6 separate regions of the Homo sapiens genome follow, and all the other regions are linked to region 6. The links are contacts of gene promoters, found by promoter capture Hi-C in blood cells and fetal thymus (Javierre and others, 2016). All regions are on one chromosome and are shown on one strand. Each heading gives the region's core, a stretch centred on a gene start or on the middle of the fragment in contact. The rest is flanking DNA. Distances are from core to core; before and after follow the strand shown. Region 1 overlaps GMDS (GDP-mannose 4,6-dehydratase). Region 2 overlaps GMDS (GDP-mannose 4,6-dehydratase). Region 3 overlaps GMDS (GDP-mannose 4,6-dehydratase). Region 4 overlaps GMDS (GDP-mannose 4,6-dehydratase). Region 5 overlaps GMDS (GDP-mannose 4,6-dehydratase). Region 6 holds the start of LINC02521 (long intergenic non-protein coding RNA 2521).

The links. The method cuts DNA at HindIII sites, captures the fragments that hold promoters and counts their contacts. A CHiCAGO score of 5 or more calls a contact.
Region 1: a fragment that was not itself captured here is called in contact with the fragment with the promoter of LINC02521 in region 6 in 1 of 17 cell types (M0 macrophages); the score reaches 5.5 in M0 macrophages.
Region 2: a fragment that was not itself captured here is called in contact with the fragment with the promoter of LINC02521 in region 6 in 1 of 17 cell types (M1 macrophages); the score reaches 5.4 in M1 macrophages.
Region 3: a contact is called between a fragment that was not itself captured here and the fragment with the promoter of LINC02521 in region 6, in 4 of 17 cell types (naive CD4 T cells, fetal thymus, total CD8 T cells and 1 more). The highest score is 5.6, in naive CD4 T cells.
Region 4: a contact is called between a fragment that was not itself captured here and the fragment with the promoter of LINC02521 in region 6, in 5 of 17 cell types (non-activated CD4 T cells, activated CD4 T cells, naive CD4 T cells and 2 more). The highest score is 8.3, in non-activated CD4 T cells.
Region 5: a fragment that was not itself captured here is called in contact with the fragment with the promoter of LINC02521 in region 6 in 1 of 17 cell types (endothelial precursors); the score reaches 5.4 in endothelial precursors.

The regions. Positions count from the first base shown.
Region 1 is chr6:2,112,383-2,115,614 of GRCh38, forward strand. All of the region lies in intron 4 of GMDS (GDP-mannose 4,6-dehydratase), which reads right to left. Among named protein-coding and RNA genes, the nearest start is that of GMDS, 130 kb to the right of the region's middle. The HindIII fragment of the contact is 2,706 bases long and covers 193-2,898 here.
Region 2 is chr6:1,698,028-1,701,520 of GRCh38, forward strand. The region is part of intron 9 of GMDS (GDP-mannose 4,6-dehydratase); the gene reads right to left. Among named protein-coding and RNA genes, the nearest start is that of FOXC1, 90 kb to the left of the region's middle. The HindIII fragment of the contact is 3,394 bases long and covers 1-3,191 here.
Region 3 is chr6:2,095,704-2,099,202 of GRCh38, forward strand. The region is part of intron 4 of GMDS (GDP-mannose 4,6-dehydratase); the gene reads right to left. Among named protein-coding and RNA genes, the nearest start is that of GMDS, 150 kb to the right of the region's middle. The HindIII fragment of the contact is 3,211 bases long and covers 1-2,997 here.
Region 4 is chr6:1,642,497-1,645,903 of GRCh38, forward strand. The region is part of intron 9 of GMDS (GDP-mannose 4,6-dehydratase); the gene reads right to left. Among named protein-coding and RNA genes, the nearest start is that of FOXC1, 34 kb to the left of the region's middle. RefSeq lists an enhancer at 1,401-2,348. The HindIII fragment of the contact is 5,748 bases long and covers 1-3,407 here.
Region 5 is chr6:1,678,428-1,681,874 of GRCh38, forward strand. The region is part of intron 9 of GMDS (GDP-mannose 4,6-dehydratase); the gene reads right to left. Among named protein-coding and RNA genes, the nearest start is that of FOXC1, 70 kb to the left of the region's middle. The HindIII fragment of the contact is 2,467 bases long and covers 403-2,869 here.
Region 6 is chr6:2,632,503-2,636,210 of GRCh38, forward strand. LINC02521 (long intergenic non-protein coding RNA 2521) reads left to right here and starts at 1,998. Exons shown (of 3, transcript NR_149119.1): 1 at 1,998-2,253. It overlaps LINC01600 (long intergenic non-protein coding RNA 1600), which reads right to left and starts at 2,101. Exons shown (of 3, transcript NR_131168.1): 1 at 2,063-2,101; 2 at 1,103-1,290. The HindIII fragment of the contact is 1,903 bases long and covers 826-2,728 here.

The DNA.
Region 1 (3,232 bases), core at 296-2,795, 520 kb before region 6:
TAAGGAACATATTCTATTTGGATAAACCAAGAAACCTGAAACACTAGAACAAGGGTTCTCAAAGTGCGGTTCCCAGACCAGGGACAGCATCATCTGGACACACCCTAAAAATGCAAGTTCGAAGACCCCACCCTAGACCTAAAGAATCAAGGATTCTGAAGAGAGGCCTGGCAACCCACAAATGATGCTACAAGCTTTACCCATCATATTCTCTCTTGTCCCTCTACATAAAAATTTCTGGAAAAAAATGCATTCAATTTGCATTTCCCTTATAACCTCTCAACTTCTAAACCCCTTGCACGCTGGCCAAGTTCTTCTGTCACATCACTAAAATGTTTCTTTAAAACGTCACAAATCCTCGCTGGCCTAACTGGCAAGGCCGGTGACTTTTCCTGGTCCTCATTCTCCTAGCCTCATCCCCTCTTGCTTGCAATGACCCAATTTCTTGACTGCCATGGCACAATCCCACCCTCTGCCTCCTCCACTTCAGTCATCAGCCCTACTTGTCCTCATCCCACCCTCTCACTATCAACCTGTTTCCAAGATTCAATCTTCAGTCCTCTACCCGTCTTTCTCCAGTTACTACTTGGCATCTTTAAGACCTCAAGAGCTGAATATACAGCTCTGTACCCTAGATCTCTCTCAAAACTCACAGCATATTTGAAGCTACCTTATAGCCTGCTTCCCTTGAATGTCCTTCAAGTAACGCCAGTAAAATGTTTCCAAAAGGGAACTTATTTCTCCAACCCCACTCCAAAAGTTCCTCCTTGAATGTCGGTTTCTAGTACTGGTTCTATTGACCTTCTGGTCCCCTGGGCACTGGAGCCCTGGGTTTCCCTCTTCTCTAGTGACCACATCAGTGCATAGAGAAATCAGCCCCACCTGGCATCCTGTTTCATTCCTCACTCCCACCCCCATTTCTAGTGACACCATCCTCATCCAGCAACTTCCTAGCTCTTCTTAAGCCCTACCTCTAGACTCTTACCTCTAGAAGTCATCACTGAATATATCTTCCCCCGTTCAAAACATGGGTAGCTGCCCAGGCACAGCCCAGCTTCCTACCTGACCTTACCTCACACTTCTCCTCATACTGGTTCTGCTCAGCTCATCTCGAATGCTCATGATGCTGCAAACATGTACCAAGTTTTCCCACTTCTCTTTGCCTCATATTATTACCCCCGTTTCAACTATTAGTTTCCCGCTACGTCTGTAACTCTGTAACTGTCCTCTCTATACCTCAACACCAGAGCCAGTGTCGGTTCCGCCTCGCACTATCCATCTACCCCCAGACGGAAGTTCTCTCTTACCCTCCTCTAAAGAGTCAGACACTTGTGCCAATCACCCCTCCTAGAGTTGAAACCCCCACAGCAGAGGTGTATCTGACACAGCTTTTCGTACTGTACCATGCATGACACCTTGCATGAGGTATGCACTCAACAAATATTTGTTGGAAGATTAAATGACCTTACAAACCAAAATTCTCACTGAAGAGTGCCATTTCCGCCCATTAACTAACCATTAAGAAAAGCAGCCAAAATACCATAAAAAAAGATAAACTTCACATGTGTAGCAATGTAGAGGGAACCAACTCAATAGCCTATGATTTCTATTACTTACAGTACAACCACACCAGAACGATAACAAAACACTATCATGATCACTACAACTAAGAAAACCAACTATAACATATTTCTGAACTATAAATATGTTTTGGGGAAAGGAAAGAATCAGCCCATTTAATACTAAATGACAAGGGGAAGGTCTTCTATAAATAAACCTTTATAAAAATTTTCTGCATCTTTCATTACAATTTTCAGCTCCTAGAGGTGATAAACTATCTATGATTACAAAGGAAACTTCTTAATCTAAAGGAAACTGAATAACAGAATGTTCATTCCAAAACATTCTGTTTTGTCTGGAAGATACTCTCATGGCTGGTCAGGAAGGTCAAGAAGCAGCCAGATGACTTATAATGTGGAAGATAGACTGACTACCTCAATTAGGGAAAAATAAAGTCTTCATTCCTGGAATGATAAAAAGTCACCGCTTCTCTATAGGAAAGAAGGGATGTAATTTCTCAAGCACACAGTATGCATAAGAGACTTTCCAAAATGAAAAAACACATGGAGAATCATTTAGAAAAATAGCTAAGCTGTAACCTAAAGACCCTGATACCTTTCACAGACTTTGGTGAAAGTCTGGATATAGAACAGAATCATCACAGATTAAGAAAAGAAAAATGTTTCTTCATAGACAGCACAGGCAGATATGAGGTATCATCATTCATCGATATGTAGCCATCCTTCAAGGTTAACATTTGAAAGAAATACATATAATGAAGACTGGCAATCAGTTATAAGATTGAGTTTATTGCTATGTTTCTCTCACCATGTTCTCCACTTGGTTTCATTTTATCTAGTTCATGATTTCTTCCTTAAACAAGCAGAGGTATATAGAATAGGCATTTAGCTTCCATTCTATGCAAACATGGGGATACAGAAAAATAGCCAATCACCTAAGAAAAACTTTCTGAAATAAGACTCCTGTACTTGTTCATTAAATAGCAAAACAAACAAACAAACAAACAAACAAAAAAAAACCTCATACATTTTCTGGACTTTTGAGGGGCTTTTATAACTTAAGAGTTACTTGCTTTTATTTCTCAGGTCCACTAACCATCCTGTCTGAACAAGTATCTAAATAGAACTCCTATCATTCATGGCTTCAGATTTCACTTATTCATGTGAGCAGGAGGACACGGCAACAAAAACTTGAATTAAGCAGACCACTAGAACCCTAAGGATGGGCCTGTGATGTTTACCGTGATTCCTTCCAGAATGCGAATAGAGGGGAAAATCCACACTGGCTATATCACACTGAGGAGGAGGGAGACTAAAAAGCTTTCTTCCAATGATTTTTACCATTCACAATTAAAAAGTTAATTCAGCTAATTTTAACATATTATTGGGACTCAAAAATATTCTCTCAGCCAGTAATTTAGCCGCTACCAAAAATTGATATTAACATAAAGGTTTTACTTAGTTACATCTTCCAACATTTTAACAAAACATTTAATTCACAATCTGTTATTTGAAATGGCAGAAAACACATCCATGGGCCTCATGGCTACAGGGAACAACCCAAAATAAACAAATACTGCTATTCCAATATTAGTGGTAAGGTTTTATTATATTGTTTAATAACAGACAAGAGACTTTTAAAAAATCTATGA
Region 2 (3,493 bases), core at 245-2,744, 930 kb before region 6:
ACATGTGAATGCTAGCTATGTATATGTTCTAAAAAGCAAAGAGTAGACAAAGAGGAGCGCCGCCCAGCCTCCCAACACCAGAGTCTCACTTCCTCTCCTCAGCTGGCGCTCTGGGGCCGGACTCCAGTAATAACAGCCTCCTGGGGAGATTAAAGCCCTGGCAAGCACAGTTTATCTTGGTGAATGTATACTTTAGCTTTGTGTGTATCTACACATATACATACACTGCAGTATTTATAGCTGGTATACATGTGAGGTAGCGCTGGAGACAAGGCCTGGAATGGGTGTACAACACCTATGAGGTTGGAACCAAGATCTTTTAAACGCAAACCTGGTTTCCCTGAACTGTCCTCCACCCGTGTGGTCCAAACACACACTCAGGTGTTTCGGGAAGAACATCCTCCCTCCCTGCAAATAGGGGCAGCAGTCTTTCTTCTGTTTCCAGAAAGAGTTGAGTATTTTGTGGTGGCTTCTTTCATCTCTGGGGACTTTGCTTATTAGAAAAATACACAGAATCACCGCTCTCCCGAGTAAGGAAATGAGATGGCCGGGAGGTGAGCTGAGTCAGGACCGCTGCTTTAAGCCAAGTCTACAGGGTTGGTATTGAGGTGGAGACGCTTCTCAGAGTGCAGCACAGCCCACTCTGAGAAGGGCAGGCATGGGGGCCATCCGGCCCCAGTGCCCACGTGTGCGCGACCCTGGACAGAGGGCGGCCTCCAGTGGCAGTGCTGCTCTGTGGCACACTGAGGCCTGGTTTCCCTTTTTTTTTTTTTTTTTTGGTGGGGGCACATATTTCCTCAGGAAGGAGCAGATAAGTTCCTCCTTAGGCTTGTGAATACTTTCTTGTCACCTGGCCAAATGGAATTCCAACGATATTGTGAAGAGGCAGTGCCACTTCACAGCAGACACTCACAACAAGCCACAGTCATGGGGTGGTCAAAACTCCCAATCTCCATTTTCATGCAAAGCTGAATGGGCAGCTCAGACCTTTAAAAAGTGTCATGAACACATAGGTCCTCTTAGTCTCTGTCTACTTGACAAGATCTCTTAGTGTCCATGTGTGATAGAACAGCACATGCCTACACTGTGTGGAGTGAGGGGCTGCCAGAGCCACACGGTGTAGCCTTCTGTCCCCCATGGAGGCATGGGTGAGAGGAGAGACACAAGACAGAGAGGAAGACTGCACATCAGGCTGCGGAAATGAGCTTGAGGGTTTATGTTTTGAGGTTGCAAAGAAAAGAAGAAAAATAAGGAAGATGGGGGTGGGGAGAAAGAACAAGCTGGGTGAGGGGAGGAGGAGGGATGTACAGGAGATGGCCTGAGGCAGCCAGGAGGGGTCTCCAGGAGGGCCTAACTGTGGAGGTTGCTGAGAGGCTAGAGGGGAGAGGCTGGAGCCAGTCCAGCCTAACACATTAACGCAGGTGTAGGGGTTTAAAACAATACGTGTCGATCCTCTTACGTTCTTGGTGTGGGCAGGGCTGGCTGCCTCTAGAGGCTCCCGGAAAGAACCCGTTCCCTTGCCTTGTCCAGCTTCTAGAGGCGCCTACACCCCTTGGCTCGCAGCCCCTTCCTTGAATCACCCTGACCCCGCTTCGTCTTCACTGCTCCTTTTCTGACTCTGACCCTCCTGCCTTCCTCCTATAAGGACCTTGTGGTTACCATTAGGGCTCCCTGGAAAATCCAGGACCATCTCCAGACCCTTCACTCAATCCCATTTGCAAAGTCTCTGGATTATCATGTAAGGTGACATAGCCACGTATTCTAGAATTAGCATGGGGACTTCCTTGGGGGTGGGGACATTCTCCTGTGTGCCACAGAGATTAGGATGGCAGCACGCCGTCTGCTGTGACTCCTCCCTGGCACAGCTGAGGGGCACACACAGCCTCCATACGCAGAGGCAGCTGGCCTAAGCCCTGGGGCTCAGCATCTCACCCATGTTCTCCAGGCCCAGGTGAGGAGAACAGCAGCTCACACGTGCAGAATGTGAACATTCTGCAAAAGGGAGATATTTTTGCATTCTTTTTCTATAGAAGAACCACCCCCTCCGCACCGACACCAAAGTGTATGAGCTCCCACAAAAGTTGGATCTGTCCCTGCATACTAATTTTGTCCATCTATTCAAAGTGCAGGGAAAGGAACATTTCTTTAAGGAAAAGTCTTCATGCTTCTTCTAATTTATCTGTATATGAGAATTTTTTAAAGTATTATTAGAAAACTTCTCACCTTTATTCTCAATTACTCTGCGAAAGTTTTTATTTTTACTCTGGATTTTAAAATATGCTTGTGGGGAAGAAATCTACAATCCCTTAATTCCATTTTCATATAGTCACAAAATCATCAGAAGAAAATGGAATTTTCTGTTCAGATTAAATACAGCTCCTCAGTACCACTGAAAGCAGGAGGGAAGGGAGAGCCTGGGGCAAGTTCCATAGACTCTAAATTACTAGCTTCTGCAAATCATTAGTTTCTCCCCTGGGAGAAAAGCAGCTCTACAGTCTTCTGGTTCCGAGGCACCCTCAGCAGAGTCAGGAGCTGCACGGCCACATTTTAAATTCTAGTGGGCACAGCTAAAACAGGATGAACCGAAGTCGGCCTGAATATTGGGACACTGATTTGAGGAGAGAGATGGCAACGTGGGACAACAGCATCTGATTTTGATGTCTTTTGTCTAGTGATGTCCTATGCGGTGGCAAGAAAGAAGACTGCAGGTGCCAGCACACCTCGCGCTGTCCCTCCTCGGGCCCAGCACTGGGACCTGAGGCTGAGCAGTCCACCTCCACCAAGAACAGGAATGCCTGACACTCAAAGGCCATCCCAGCCCCAGTTCTGGAAATCCGAGACCCTAACTGTACTTTAAAAGATAACTGACAGACAGGTGGCAGGAGTCAAGAAGGGTCAGTCATAACTTATCCTATTCGTAAATCATAACAGTGAAGTGCAAAATCCCAGGAAGCCAGCTCAGGCTGATGATGCCGCCGGGGTGACAAACCAGGGACTAAAAAGTCTGGGTTCAGGAATCTTTAGGTAATTAACTGTAGAATGACTAGATACCCGCCTCCCATATTTACAGCGCATGCCTTTGCTAAACCCATTTGCCCTCCTTCATTTCTTCCTGTCTCTCTGCCTCTCCCTCCCTTCCCTTAGCGTGGAGTACATCAATCTGTCCGAAGGGATAAACTATATTTGTGTTAAGCTTTCATTTATAATTAACCAGCTGACCCCAATTCCACACATAAATGGCACTTATTATTTAAAAAATACAGGCTACATTTCTTTCATTGTTCACTGTGTCATTATGTATACATAATGTTTCCTTCCCATAGAGAATAAAATAATGACCAAAGTTCTGTCCTTCAACCCAATGTCTCCACAGTGTGTCTTTCCACCCTTGTTAAACACTGCCTGCTTACATGTTTTCAAAACACATGACCCGCATCTACTCTGACACTTTCCCATTCATCGACAGAGCAACTTCAGTCCTTAATTAGGGCAG
Region 3 (3,499 bases), core at 142-2,641, 540 kb before region 6:
TACGGGAATCTTAGAATTGCAGAGTTGGATGAAACCTTGGAAGTCATTTGAACATAAACTCAATCTAGCATATAAACCCTTTCAATGATATATCTAATGTGCTGGATGACAACTTTTAAAGAAGCTGAAAGACATCCACCAATTGTGGAAAGTATGCTATCCAAAAGAAGAATTCTCAAGTCCCCTCAAAAAAGGGGGAGAGAGGTTTGACCTCAATGAAATTTAAGATTTACGTTCTGTGAAGGACATCACAGATAGAGCAAGCATAGAAGTGACAACTGGAAGAATATATCTGCAACATATATACCTGATAAAAAGTTAATAGGAATTCCTACAAATTAGCAATAAAAACTGAATGGACAAAGGATAGGAAGAGGCATTTGACAGAAAGAAACGCCAGAATTTCTAAATCTATAAAGTGAGTTCAACCCCATTATTAATTAGAGGTACAGCTATGACATTATATAACTCTCCTCCAGTTTGCAGAGTAAAAGGGTAGATCTTAATTTTAATGATGTGAAACAGAAAGTTTATTAAAAAGAGGCGTGAAATGAAAGAAGTAAATATCCATGTGATTTGTTGTTATACATCCAGTGTCTTAAAGCAGGGACCTGTACAGAGAAATAAACTATATTTTATGATTTCCAAGTAAAAACATATATATTTAATTTGTTTTTATTACTAGAATTTGTTTTTGTTTCAGAAAACAACATATTTACAAACTTGAACACTGTTTAAGCACAACCTAGTCAGGGAAACATTCACCGTGTCTATTTCAGAAATAAGACACTTTATGTTAACTAATGTAGTGGAAAGGACTACATTAATGATTTGCCATTTTAAGGAGCATGACAAGCTAAGTAACAGCTGTCAGTAGGTCAAACACAATTCAATCGGCATAGTTAGTTCCAAAAAACATTTAAATAGGTTCTTTAGCTGGGAAGTCCACATATTACTCAGTAATTCTAGGACTAATCAAAAGCAAATAGAAAAAAACAATTCTCACTAGCTTGGGGTCAGTGAAAACCTATTTGACCTATGCCAAAAAGGGAGGTTCTCCATTCAAACAGATGGATAAAAGCTCCAAGTACAGTTATCTCACTAAAATTCCAAACAAGTCACAATGAACACATGACTTTATATTTTAGTTGTGTGTACGTATATTACATGTATGTGTACACAGACACATCTAGAGACTAATTAAGTTAGTGACTGTAAATTTTATATATAAAAATGCCCATATATTTAAGAGTCAAAGAATAGTTGTCTTTTTTATATAGTCACTAAAGACAGATATATAATATGTATATATACTAACAGACAATGTGAATTCAACAGGTATCATTTTAATGATATCATGCTGTACAAAAATATAAAGAAAATATATTTGAAAAGAAAAAAAAAGTTTGCAAATTCCAGGTAATAAATGAAAAAATGAATTACAAGAACACCCAGAAACCCAATGGAAGCTGTTACAGATCACTGAATTTTTGGAATCTAAAAACTCTGTAGTTTTATATTTTATTATTGTAGATAATTGTATACACAAGCCCCCACAGAATAATGCCTTGTCTGTTGTTCTTGAGAGAGAGTAGAACAGATGGCTCTAGTCAAAGCCCCTCGGCGACTGAGCATTATCACCTATCTAGGGAAGGAGATGGTGGTGCGGGGGTGGCTAAAAGGAGGATGAAGGCTTCTGGGAAGAGAAAGAGGGTGCAGCTTAAGTAGAAAATGGACAGCTAAAACGACGAGGGGTGAAACTGAATGTAAATTATGCCTGGCTTTAAATATAAGAGTTTTAATATTTTATTAGTAATAAATCCACTGTTTTCCCCCCTTAAACTGCTGTCACACACATGCTAGTGGCCCTTGACAAATGCCTGAAATCTTTGCCATCATTATTACACAGGAAAGGCTTTGAAAGAATTCCAAGCAATCCATCCATGTCATACTTTGACAAAGCAAGGGAGAGGCCACGGGAAGAAGAGCTTTAGCTCCCAGTGAAGAGTTAAGAAAGTGAGCCTTTACTCTAGGCTCCAGTTCCGCCCTAAAACCTAGCTGTTTGACTGTAGAAAAGACTAGGATCTTCTCGTAGCAAGGCAATTACCAGTCTACATGGTTAGGATAGTGACAAACAAAAGAAACATGTCAAATAAATAAATGGTTACCATTAAATAGAATTTATTTGCAGGTACTTTCTAAATTTAGTACGACTATAAAAACAAACAAAACAAAACAACTTTCAAACTACCAAAGCATGTGAAAACAAACTATAAAGCTGTTTCAATGCTCCCTTATGTTTTAAGAAAAAAAAAAAAACTAAACTGGGACAATAAGAAAATTACACATAATATTATTATTATTATTTTTTTGAGACGAAATCTCTTTATCGCCCAGGCTGGTGTGCAGTGGCACGATCTCGGCTCGCTCACTGCAACCTCCGTCTCCCAGGTTCAGGTGATTCTCCTGCCTCAGCCTCCCTGTAGCTGGGATTACAGGTGCCCACCACCACACCCGGCTAATTTTTATATTTTAGTAGAGATGGTGTTTCGCCATGTTGGCCAGGCAGGTCTCAAACTCCTGACCTCAGTCGATCCACCTGCCTCAGCTTCCCAAAGTGCTGGGATTACAGGCGTAAGCCACCGCGCCCAGCCACATAAATTATTTTTATAATTACTCTTCAAATAAGGAAAATTTAGTAATAAAGAAAGTAATCTACTTGAAATATTTTTAGCTATCATAGATTAACAAGGATAAACACCAATCTAAGAATTTGTACGTAGTTTATAACTTTATTTAGAAACAAAATCTTAAATCCTTATGGTAATTTCATAAAAGGTAGAAAAAGTCTAATTTTTATACGCTTAGTTGAGAAACACTTAAAGCAAACCCTGCACTGAACTGAAAATTTCCACAAGACATATAAATAAACTTATAAAAGCTCGGAGTAAACCTCTTAGGAATGTCTTGATTGGGGTTAAACTATGGCTGATAATAAGCTTAAAAAAACTAACTTAGGAACAAGTTTGCCACCTTGACAGTATGAAATGCCACTAAATTGAAAATGGAATCTGGATGGCTTTAAAATAATTGAATCTATGCTAGCTATAAATCCTGGAATCTTTTACTTGGGAATCCAAGGTTTAAATACAATGACAGTTAAGATGAAAAGTTTTATTATTATATAAGTATTTTTCTTTGACTTTTAGAAACTCTACAAATCAACAGAAATCCCTTATTCAAGTAAAAAATTAACAAAAAAGGACGCTTTGAAAATTAAAACTTTTAACTATTTTTTTTCTGCTATAGGTGGAATTTGTGCTGTGCTTGGGATACTACAATACTGTCGCTTATAAAGACACATTTTTAAAACATTTACTTTTTGTTCTCTAAGTCATCTACGTTTAACCACTATTTTTACATTATAAACTCTCATTTAGCATACATTTACTACAGTGGCCAATAATGGTCTATTATTATACAAATCAAATATGTGTTT
Region 4 (3,407 bases), core at 546-3,045, 990 kb before region 6:
GTTCTATAACTGTTGCTCAGATTTGTCTGAAAATTTTGGTTTTGTCAGGGAGAAAATAAATTTCTCCTTCAAAATCTCCACCTTCCCCCTAAGGTGAAGGTCAACCTGGTCTTTGTCCTCTAGGTTGGAGAACGGGGTTCCATGGTGACCATCGTCCTGAGTCCTTATGCATAACAGACGTGGAGTAATATTTTGACTTTATAAAGCCTGCTTCATGATGGCTTCTTGTGTCTTTGTGAATAGCACAGGTGGGCAGCTGTGCTGGTCCCATGTGGGCGACAGGCAAGCTGGGCCTGGACGGTCTGTCTCTCCAAGTCCAACAGGAAGATCAGGATGGGCCTCGGATCTCTGCTCCTAAAGCCGGGCCCCACGAAGCCCCTTCCCTTTACTCCTTATGGAGTCCCCTTCCTCACTGAGTTTTTTCCCCTATTTTAAAATAGCTCTTCACAGAGAATCTTTGGGGGCTTTTAAACAGCCCTGGTCTTAGCAGAGTTAACACAACCACATCATGAGGGATCTGCTGACGAGGGGGGCATCCTGCAGAGCCGGTCCATACTTCCTTTTATTTTCTTATCCTGAGTCTCTTCCCCTGAGTCTCCCCAGAGAAACTGGTGATTCTCAACACATCCTGTGGAGTTTGTGAAAAGTGGAGCTTGGTGAGGTCCTCAGCCAGGTGAGATGTGCCGGAATCTCCAAGGGTGCCCTCATAGAAGGTGTCTGAGGATTGATTCACCAGACCAGACAAGTGTGGGGGGCAGGGACAGCATCTCACTCAGCTTGGTGTCCCTGAGACCCAGCCCATTTGGCAGGACACACAGGCATTGTAAGGAAATGCAATTTCCTTACGCCTTCCTGAAAACGAACCCTGACTGCCCACGGGGCAGCTGAGCCCCCGAGGCTCTGTTGCTGCAACTGTGCTCATCTCCAGGTGGCTGTCAAGGTGCTCATGCCTTCCTCGGCTCCCATGGCATAAATGAGGCAAGGAGAGCCTTCGAGAGTCCTTTTAGTAGAGTAGGATGTGGTTACCAGGGCCTTAGGCAGTTGTGGGGATGCTGGTCAAAGGATACACACCTATAGCTAGGTGGGGACAGCGGAAGTTCAGAATCAGCAGATGCATAGAGACAGGGGTGGAGAGGTGACCACCTGGGCCACGGTGGGGGGGACACTGGGGACTGCTAATGGTTATGGAGTTTTTGCCTCCGGTGATGAAAATGCCCTAGAGTTGATTGTGGTGATGGCTGCACACTGAGCAGACTAAAACCCATTGATCATATACTTTAAGTGGGTGAACTGTATGATGTGTGAATTATACCTCAATAAAATTGTTTAAAAATTAAAAAAAGTTGAAAGTCTCTTCCCAGCTCCCCTCCCCTCTAAAAAAAAAGTCCTTTTAAAAACCCTGAGAGGAAACAAAGGAGCAAAGCACCCTGCAGGTGGGCCCTCTCTAGAGGCCAAGCCTGACTCCTCAGCTGACAAGGCTCCCAGGGCGGACGGCCCTTACCCAGCCCCCGTTGTCCCCAGACACCTCCCCTCTGAGCCCCAGGGCCCAGCGCTGTGACTGACATTGCCCCGTGTCCTCGGCCTGCTCTTCTGGCAAGGAACCCCCGGTCTGAGGTAGGTCAGCACGGCACCTCAGCCTGCAGATACTAGTAGCCTGCAGCCACCAGTATGAGGATCCACTCTTCCTCCAGGGACCCACGCGGGGAGGGCCCTCCACCGCCAGGGGAGACCCCTGATTCCACCCGAGCGAACGTGTGAACGATAGCGGATGGCACTGCAGCTGTGACTAGGGCCTGTCAGGTGGACTGCAGATTGCCACCTGGAAGCCCTCTGCTGGGCATCCAAACCTGCCCTCAACACAGCCAGAGCCTTCCTGCCTTCCTGTTGGCGTCTCACCATTGCCATAAATAGGCTGCATATGAGCCGCTAGGCTGCACTCCCCACAGGCTCAAAACTTTGCTGCTGCCTGCACTTTGCTCCTGCCTTTCTCACCACCTTGCACTTTTTCCTCCCTTCCCAAGTTCCCCAGCTGAAATTCTCTCCACTTTAGAAGACCAAATTTGTGCTCTAAGTCAGCCAACATTTCTCAGCATCTCCTGTCGGGAGGAGCCAGGTACCGTCCCACAGGGAGCTGCTCTAATCCCTGCTGCCCGCCCAGGAAGGAGATCCCAAGGTCCCTGATTTATGGCGAAGAGGAGGGACTGTGAGGTTTTCTGGTGACCACAGAGCCAGGGTTCACGGCCACCCCCACTGCCGTTTCTTGCACCTGTACTGTGAGCCTTGCACCCACTGCAAGCTCTGACAGCTTTGGCTCTCAGGGCCTGGCCAGCACCTACATTCTGCAGATGAGGAAGCTGAGGCTTAGTGAGTAACTTGCCCAGAGTCACGAGGTTAGGAAGTGGGGTGTATCAGGATGAGATTCAGACTCTGGTCCTTTTTTTTTTTTTTTTTTTAAACGAGACGGAGTCTTGCTTTGTCGCCCAGCCTGGAGTGCAGTGGCGTGATCCTGGCTCACTGCAACCTCCACCTCCCAGGTTCAAGCGATTCTCTTGCCTCAGCCTCATGAGTAGCTGGGATTACAGGCATGTGCCACCACGCCCAGCTAATTTTTGTATTTTTAGTAGAGACGGCGTTTCACCATGCTGGTCAGGCTGGTCTCGAACTCCTGACCTCGTAATTCACCCACCTCGGCCTCCCAAAGTGCTGGGATTACAGGCATGAGCCACCGCGCCCAGCCTGCTTGATTCTTATACCCTGTCATCCAGCACACTTCCTTCCCCAAACTGAATGCAAGCCCCCCATGGGCAGAGAATCTATGGTGCCCATTTTCAGTCACCCGTGCTGTGCCTAGCATAGCTTCCTGCACCCATCAGCGCTAAAATATCCCACGGATGCTGTCTTGATGGCAGAAGGCACTTTTCAATCACTGTGCAAATGGCGCCTTCTACCCCCATGATGGCATGTGCACGGCATGCTCGAGTGCCCGGGGACGCTCACCCTGTCCTCCTGGAGGTCCGGAGCCCTCGCCTGGTGTTCCCTGTGCTGTCCTTGCCTTGCCTCACTTGCTCTTTTCCTCCCACTCTCCGGGTCCAACCTTGGCTTTAGTGTCTCTGCTTTCTGCAGGCTCTCCTGGGGCGGGCCCCTTTCTGCAGACAACTTCAACTATGGCCTCTATGTGAGGACATCACTCTATCTTCAGCCTTTGCCTTTCTCCTGGATTCCAGGGCTGCATTCTTCTTTCCAGCCTGACAACTGCAGCCAGTGCCCATGGCCACCGCAGCGTCACCCTGTCTACAGCAAGCATCTCCTGTGAGAAGTCTCCACATGCAACTTCGCTTCTCTCTAGCACAGTGTCCCTCTCATTTCTCTGAGGACTTGTTAACAATCTGTGGTTATTTTGCCAATCC
Region 5 (3,447 bases), core at 386-2,885, 950 kb before region 6:
GGTTCCCTGGTGACCTTGATTCACTAAAGGAACCAGGAAGAGCTGCTGATTTTCAGTGTGTTTGGCTTTCTTCTTGTTGTGGGGGCTGAGTGACAACTTCCTTGCTCCTTACAAGTTGGGCTGGAATCAGAAGTGAGTTCAATGGACTTTTATTTTTTTTTTTCTCCTCAACTAAATGCAACTCAGATCAACATGGAAAGGTAACACGTAAAGCAGGGACAGTGGCAAAAACCAGACAGGATGCCGGGAAGAATATTTTAACTTAAGATTCAGTCAGAGATAAAAGATTAAAATAAACTTTGTAATTATCTTTCCACATGACACATTTATAAATTCCTGTAATTTCCTGTGCCAAAATATATTTTCAGGCATCTCTTTTGATCATTTAAACTTATTTTTAAAAGCTTTACATATTTCCTTTTACACAAGTAATGGAACACAGACCAGTCAGCTGTATTGCTAAACATTACAAGGATATTATTACTTGTTTTAAACAAGTACCTGCCATAGCACATTCTGATATCTGGAATATGATTCTGACAGCAAAGCAAACTGACTAAATGAGTCCCATTTACTGAAACGACACTAGACAAAACTGCTTCTCAGATTTATGTAGCTCCAAACATGTGCATGCGTACAGAGTCCTCTCTCTCCGCACACACACAGTTGTTACGCACACAATGGAAGACATCACTGTGCTTGTGAAACCTGTGTTGAGAGCAGACAGATGGCGGTTATCAAATACTTTGGCACTCATACACAGGAGACAGTTACATCTCAGAGGAGTGTAACTTGTGTGAAGGCTAACGCTGGCACTGGATCCAAACCTGTGCAAATAGCCCTGTGACACCCTCTTCTACTGAAATATATGAATTGTTTTAGGCCATCGGGGTGGGCTGGGAAAGAGTTTTAAAATATAAATAGAGACCAGGACAATGACTATATTTATTTAGAGGTGACAACATCCTTAAATAATTTAGGTCAGCTGACGCAAGCGCTGAGAAGCTGAACAACTGGCATGGTGCTCTATCTTCACTGCCAGGCCAGGCAAGGGGGCCCCAGCTAATGCTGCTCCGTGCTGATCTGCTCTCTGCTCCTCATACCTGTTGGTATCGACCTTGTAAGAAGGTTCAGATCCATGAGTGGCCCGTGATGACTGAACACTAAATGGATGTTGGGAGAAGCTCATCTCTCTGTGGATGCTCTCTACTCACGCAGGCCACCTCGAAGGAGAAGTCTGATTACTGCAAGTTGTTACAGTTCAGTGTATACGATATTTTGATAATACACAGAGAGTGTTTCATTGCAGTCAAATAATATCTTGAGCTCTCACAACAGCAAACTTCAGGAACTTCAAAGGAATTCCAGTCCAACTGGAACCGTCATTACAAAACAAATCTTAGCTTTATTGTTAGCCAGACCACAAAGGGGCAGAGACTGTGCCAAAGTAAATGCTCTTGAGATCTCTATATATTACCTTTGAACAATTAATTGGTCTCCTGGAGACAAGGAAAAAAAAGGAAAGAAAACAAAATAAAAGATTGACAATGAAATATATTGTTCTTGGATGTCACAGCCTGGATAAGCCATAGCCACATTGAACAAATACCTGCCAAATTGATCATTAATTTCAACTAGTCTGTAATTTCACACATTAGGCTAAGTCTTGTACACTGAAATTACGCGCACTTTGTAGATGATATTTTCAGCTGGTCACAAAGAGGAAATTCTACTGCCTAAGAAAATAGGCATCCAGATATTCAAAGACCGGGCCTCAGAGGTGAACTTCACTTATATGAGGCATTTCTCTGTGCTACCATGAATTCTTGATGTGCGCCCTTCATCCACCTGCTTCCTCGTGGCACCTTCCAAACCATCCAGACATGACTCTAAGTCATCAGGTTAATGAACAGGACAGGCAGAGAGCTGAGTGGCAGTAAATAAACAGGGCCTGACCCCTATCAGAATTTAAATGTTTTGGGATCCTGACCCCAACTATCAGCATTTGCCAACATTGCTAGTTCTCCTCTTATACCTCTGCCTTCCAAAGTACCACACCAATGAGGGTGCAGGCCAGGTGTTAGTTCTGATCCGGCACCGTGACCTGACTTCTCACACGGAAAGCAGCGTGGACCTTCTGGCCTCCCTCCCTTGGGCGCCCGGCCAGGACACGCAAGGTCATACTGCTGAGGCCCTTTGAGATCCTCGAGTTAAAGGGGCCCATAAAGGCAAAGTGTCATGAACGGCGTATGTTCCAGGTGCATCACTTGAGCCGCCAGAGCCACATAATGGTTTGCCTGGTAAGTGCCTTTGCCCAGCATGTGCCCATTGAACAAACCACAAAAAGATGACTGCAAAGGGGTCTTCTTATAATAGGGCCTGGTGCCTGGTGGATGCCCAGAGCCCTTGCCATTTCTGAAATGGACATAAGTGACCTAAAAGGCAGCTTTTCATGACAGGTTACCCTGGATGATGTTTCCTAAAGAAAAGTCACATCAGTGGGTGAGACAGAATGTAACAACTAGTCTGTTCTCTCTCACCGTTCACATTTACTGTTGCCTCCTCGGCAGGGAGGATAAAAAGAAAGAAGTAACACAAATATACTCTCACATACATCGAATATACATACACATGCTCACACATACACACACAAGTGCACAACACACTCATACACATACGTACACCTACAAATACACACACTTACAGATACACACACCTATATACACACACACACACCTCCCCCACCGAGAGGCGATGAGCACAGGGCATGTGCCAATGCAGAAGAGGACTGTGTCTACACACCTGCCTCCTCACAGTGTCCTGCCACCCTGCCGCCAAGACACGCTGGTACTTGTTGGGCTGTGATAAAAGCTTCTGCTTGGCTGCCATGGGTGACATCTTACTACAGATTCTGTTACATGGTGGGATATGTCACTGCATTTTCAATCTGCTGTGTTCTAGCATCTACAGTCCCAAAATGGCTCAAGAAGAAAGTGGTCCTACAGAGGTCAGAATCTGAGGTTGTAAGAAATTATGAAAGCTCTGCCATTCAGGACAAGATGGAAATCAGTGTGGCTCCAGGTGAGGAGGACCAGGCGGTAGACCCAGGCGCACAGTGGGAACAGTCTACGACTGCCAGGGAAGGCCTCCGGTGGAGAGTGGCATCCGCCAGCTCCCTGGCAGCCCCAGGCAGAGAGGCCAGGGGATCTCACCAGCAACCCCCACCATAAAGTGCTGGAAGGTGCTAAAGAGAATGCCGTGAATCTGATTTTCAAAACACCACTCAGTGTGTCTGTGCAGAAATGCACTAAGGCTGGAGTGCAGTGGCACGATCACAGCTCACTGCAGTTTTGACCTCCCTGCACGCTGGTGATCCTCCCATTTCAGCCTCCTGAGTAGATGGGACTATAGGCACGCACCACAGTGTGCGGCTAATTTTTGTATTTC
Region 6 (3,708 bases), core at 748-3,247:
TGGCCAGGTGGCGGTGACTCAAACCTTCTCCATTTTAACTTGGCATCTCAGAGCTTCTGGACAGAGTCCACAAATACATGAGACAAAAATAGGCCAGCATACCCTCCCTTGCCAGGCCCTCATTGTTGAGGGATGAGATGAGGGCTGGGCAAGCGGTTACACAGCCGAAACCAGGGCCCTAGAACCCAGCTCTGCCAGCATGGGCGCCCCACAGCTCTGCCCACAGCGTCTGCTCTTTATTCTTGGTTTCTCCTCTCCTTCTCTTCCACTTCCCATTCTTTGTGATCCATCTTTTTCCAAAAGTTGACAGGTTGGCTGGAGACAATTCCCCCTGCCAGCTTTTCTGTCTTTTCCACCTTTAGTTTAAGTTGTCCATGAGGGCTGGTGATCCATTTTCGGTCCTCCATACCTTCCTGGGCAATCCCTCTGGGCCCTCACACCTCCACGCCCTCCACCCTCCCAGCTCCTTCCTCCCGGGGCCTCGAGCTTTTCCCTTTTTTCATCCTCTGTGCACTGTTTCACCCCGACATGTATGTTATTGTTTGACTGTGGCATCAGCCATTCTTGGAGACTTTTCCCAGGGCTTGCAATTTTGTAGCAGAGAGAGATTTTCTATCTAAAGCAAAATGCTGGTCTTGTTTAAATAAATAATAAGATAAAAGAATCAGGCACTGTAGGGGTATTTGGCCCACAGCCATCCTGTCTCAGCAGGGTCCTTTTCATTGAGGGAAGCATTTTTCATATCCATAATTTGCCCCTTTCTCTAACCCAGGGTGCACGCTGCCGTGGCCCTTGGTGACAATGTCCCCTGTGGCCTTCCTCCAAAGCTTGCTCCAGCAAGCTCTGACATGGTGTCCTCCCTCCCCTTCTGGGCTGCGGCTTCTCCAACCTCCCCCAGCTCCTGCAGACAGAGGAGAAACAGCAAGTCACAAGATAAGACAAAGACCCTCTAGGCCAGGCCACTCCTCGCTGCCACTCTGGGACAGCAAGGCAAAACGCAGACGGCCCCAGCTCTGGACGCCTCTCCTCCTCTGGACCCTAACCCTAACCCTAAGCCACTGGAACACTCACGGGAGAAAGCTGGACCTGCTTTGAGGCTCACCTCCCTGCATGCACATCCATCCGGCTTCTCTCAAGAAGCAACCTGGTGTCTGAGAGCCGTTGAGTCTTCATCCCAGCTCTGGTATTTCTCTCATGTGGCCACATAACCTTGAATGTCTGACCTTCAATTTCTTCATCTGTACAGTGGTGAAGATGATCCCCACTTTGCTAGGTTGTTGTGAGCATTACCTAAAAGAAAATAGGTGCTATGGCGGCATGTTTGTTGAGCTAGGAGGACTCGGAACAAAATTAGCTTCTGCACCGGCTGTGCTGGAGCCAGGCAGGCCGCTCCGGTGTGGCCCTGTTTTTCCTGGTTTGTGTCCCAGGAACCTGCCAACCCTCATTGTCCCGGATTTTCCCTTTGACTCCAAAAGCCGTGTCTTTCTTATCAAGCCTCTTTATTTTTGTTATTATCCCGTCAACATACTCCCCTCTGATTCGCCCCCACTAATGACTCGCGCCCTTTCCAAAGTCCCAGCACACCGCGCTTATAATCTCTTTCAGCTGTCCTTAAAAAGGTTCTATTTGTCCCCTCCGCCCCGCTCAGGGGCGCCCGGACTCTGGGGCCCGGCCTTCGCGGGCTCCCGGGTTCCTCCCATCGCTTCCCTCACAGTCCTGGCCGCAGGGCAGCGGGTTTCGCACGGGAGGGAAGGTTTGGATGGCTAACGCCCAGGGTTGGTCTTCCCTGTGTCTTTTATGGGAACACGTTCCTGCCTGCGCCCCACGGGACAGAGCCGTTTTCCCGCCCCGCCACGCCGCGCCCGCAGGCCCCGCTGCCCGCAGCCTCTTCCCGACGCCCCAGGCCGTGCGCCCCCCCGAACCGGGCCCACCGCGTGCTGTGCGGGGCTTCCGCGCCTGCGCACGAACGCTTCTGCGAGCTTTCTCGGAAGCAGCTGGGGGGCGGGGAATCTGCTGAGGAACGGCGCTTTATAAATCAAAAGATAATAATAACAGAGCTTACGGTGAGCACCGGAGGCTGGAAACGGGGTGGCATCCGCTCGGGGCGGGGCGGCGTCGCCAGCGAATGACAACACTGCCCCCTGGTGGCCGATGCGGCCAGGCCCGAGAGAGCGCAGGCCGGGTGCGAGCCAGGCTTCCTCACCACGCGGCTTCCCCACTCATCCCATAGAAACCGTAACTGAGCAAATGACGGTAAGTCCCCAGGAAGCGTTAAGGCCAGGAAGCAGCACAGGAGAAAAACCCGAATCCCATTTTTTTAGAGTAGGGATTTATTTGTTGTCCCCAGATAGCAAGCTGAATTTCTGAATAGTTCAGAGCTCACAAAAGAAGCCAAGACCTTTCAGGGCATTTTATAATGTTGCTTTTTATAAACAAAATATTGAAACCACTACTATCACTGTCACTGGGGGATTACTGTTGAGCAGAAATGCTTGTGAAACTCCCAAAAGAAAGGGTCGTTTGTGCTTCTTTGGCATTAAGTAAAAATGTCCTGTTTGGTGTGTACACGTTTTCATATTTAATTATTCACACTGTGCACTTTATATATAAACTCAGCACTTAGGTTCTCTGTGAGCCAGAAACCTGGCTTCTGTGCTCATCCATAGACCCAGTGAGAGTGTAGAAGCCAAGCCTGGTGGAGCCTGTGTCTACCAGGGCATTGCAGTAAAGCTTCTACCACTCACTGTAAATACCTCCCATCGAGGCTGAGGAAAAGTTGTAGCATACTTGGAAATTGGGGTGGAGTATTGTCATCCAAAAAGGCATATTTCTTTTGGTGTTTTCCATACCCGGCTGTGTCATTGTGAAGCCTCAGCTCTCCCAATCTCCCCATAAACTGGAGGAATCCTAGTGTTTCCTGTCCTGCCACATTATGTGTGGGGAAGATTTTTTTTTTTTTTTTTGAGACAGAGTTTCACTCTTGTTACCCAGGCTGGAGTGCAATGGCGCGACCTTGGCTCACTGCAACCTCTGCTTCCTGGGTTCAAGCGATTCTTCTGCCTCAGCCTCTGGAGTACGGAGCTGGGATTACAGGCACCCGCCACCATGCCCGACTATTTTTTGTATTTTTTAGTAGAGACCGGGTTTCACCATGTTGGCCAGGCTGGTCTCAAACTCCTGACCTCAGGTGATCCACCCGCCTCGGCCTCCCAAAATGCAGAAAGAGTCTTAAGATGGATTTTTAGTAAGTACTTCAAGCGGCTTTATGAAAGCTACCGTCAGTAAAGTAGAAAACTATATATGCACATATTTAGATATGGAGCTCCCACGGAGGAAGTGCTCTGACAGGTCAAATCTGCCCCCAAAATAAGTTGATAGAACTTCAAGGAAGCATGAAAGCGGCCTTGCTGTGCATTTCATTTTATGGAGCGTAAGTGCCTAATAAATGAATGTGTGGGTCTGAAGAAAGTGATATTTTCTAATGAAGTTATAAGTGTCGCAGTCCGGAAAAGTAGAACCCAAACAAACACAAAAAGGAGCGTGCAAGGCCCACGCCGCGCTGCACAGACTCTCCCCACCTGGTGAATGCTGACCTGGGGCCAGGCCACAGGCAGGGAGAGAAAGGTCGCCGGCATGAACACCAGGTGACCCCGTGAAGTGTGTGCTTCTGAGAGCAGGGGTCCCCCAAGTGAAGTGGGCGATGGCCTC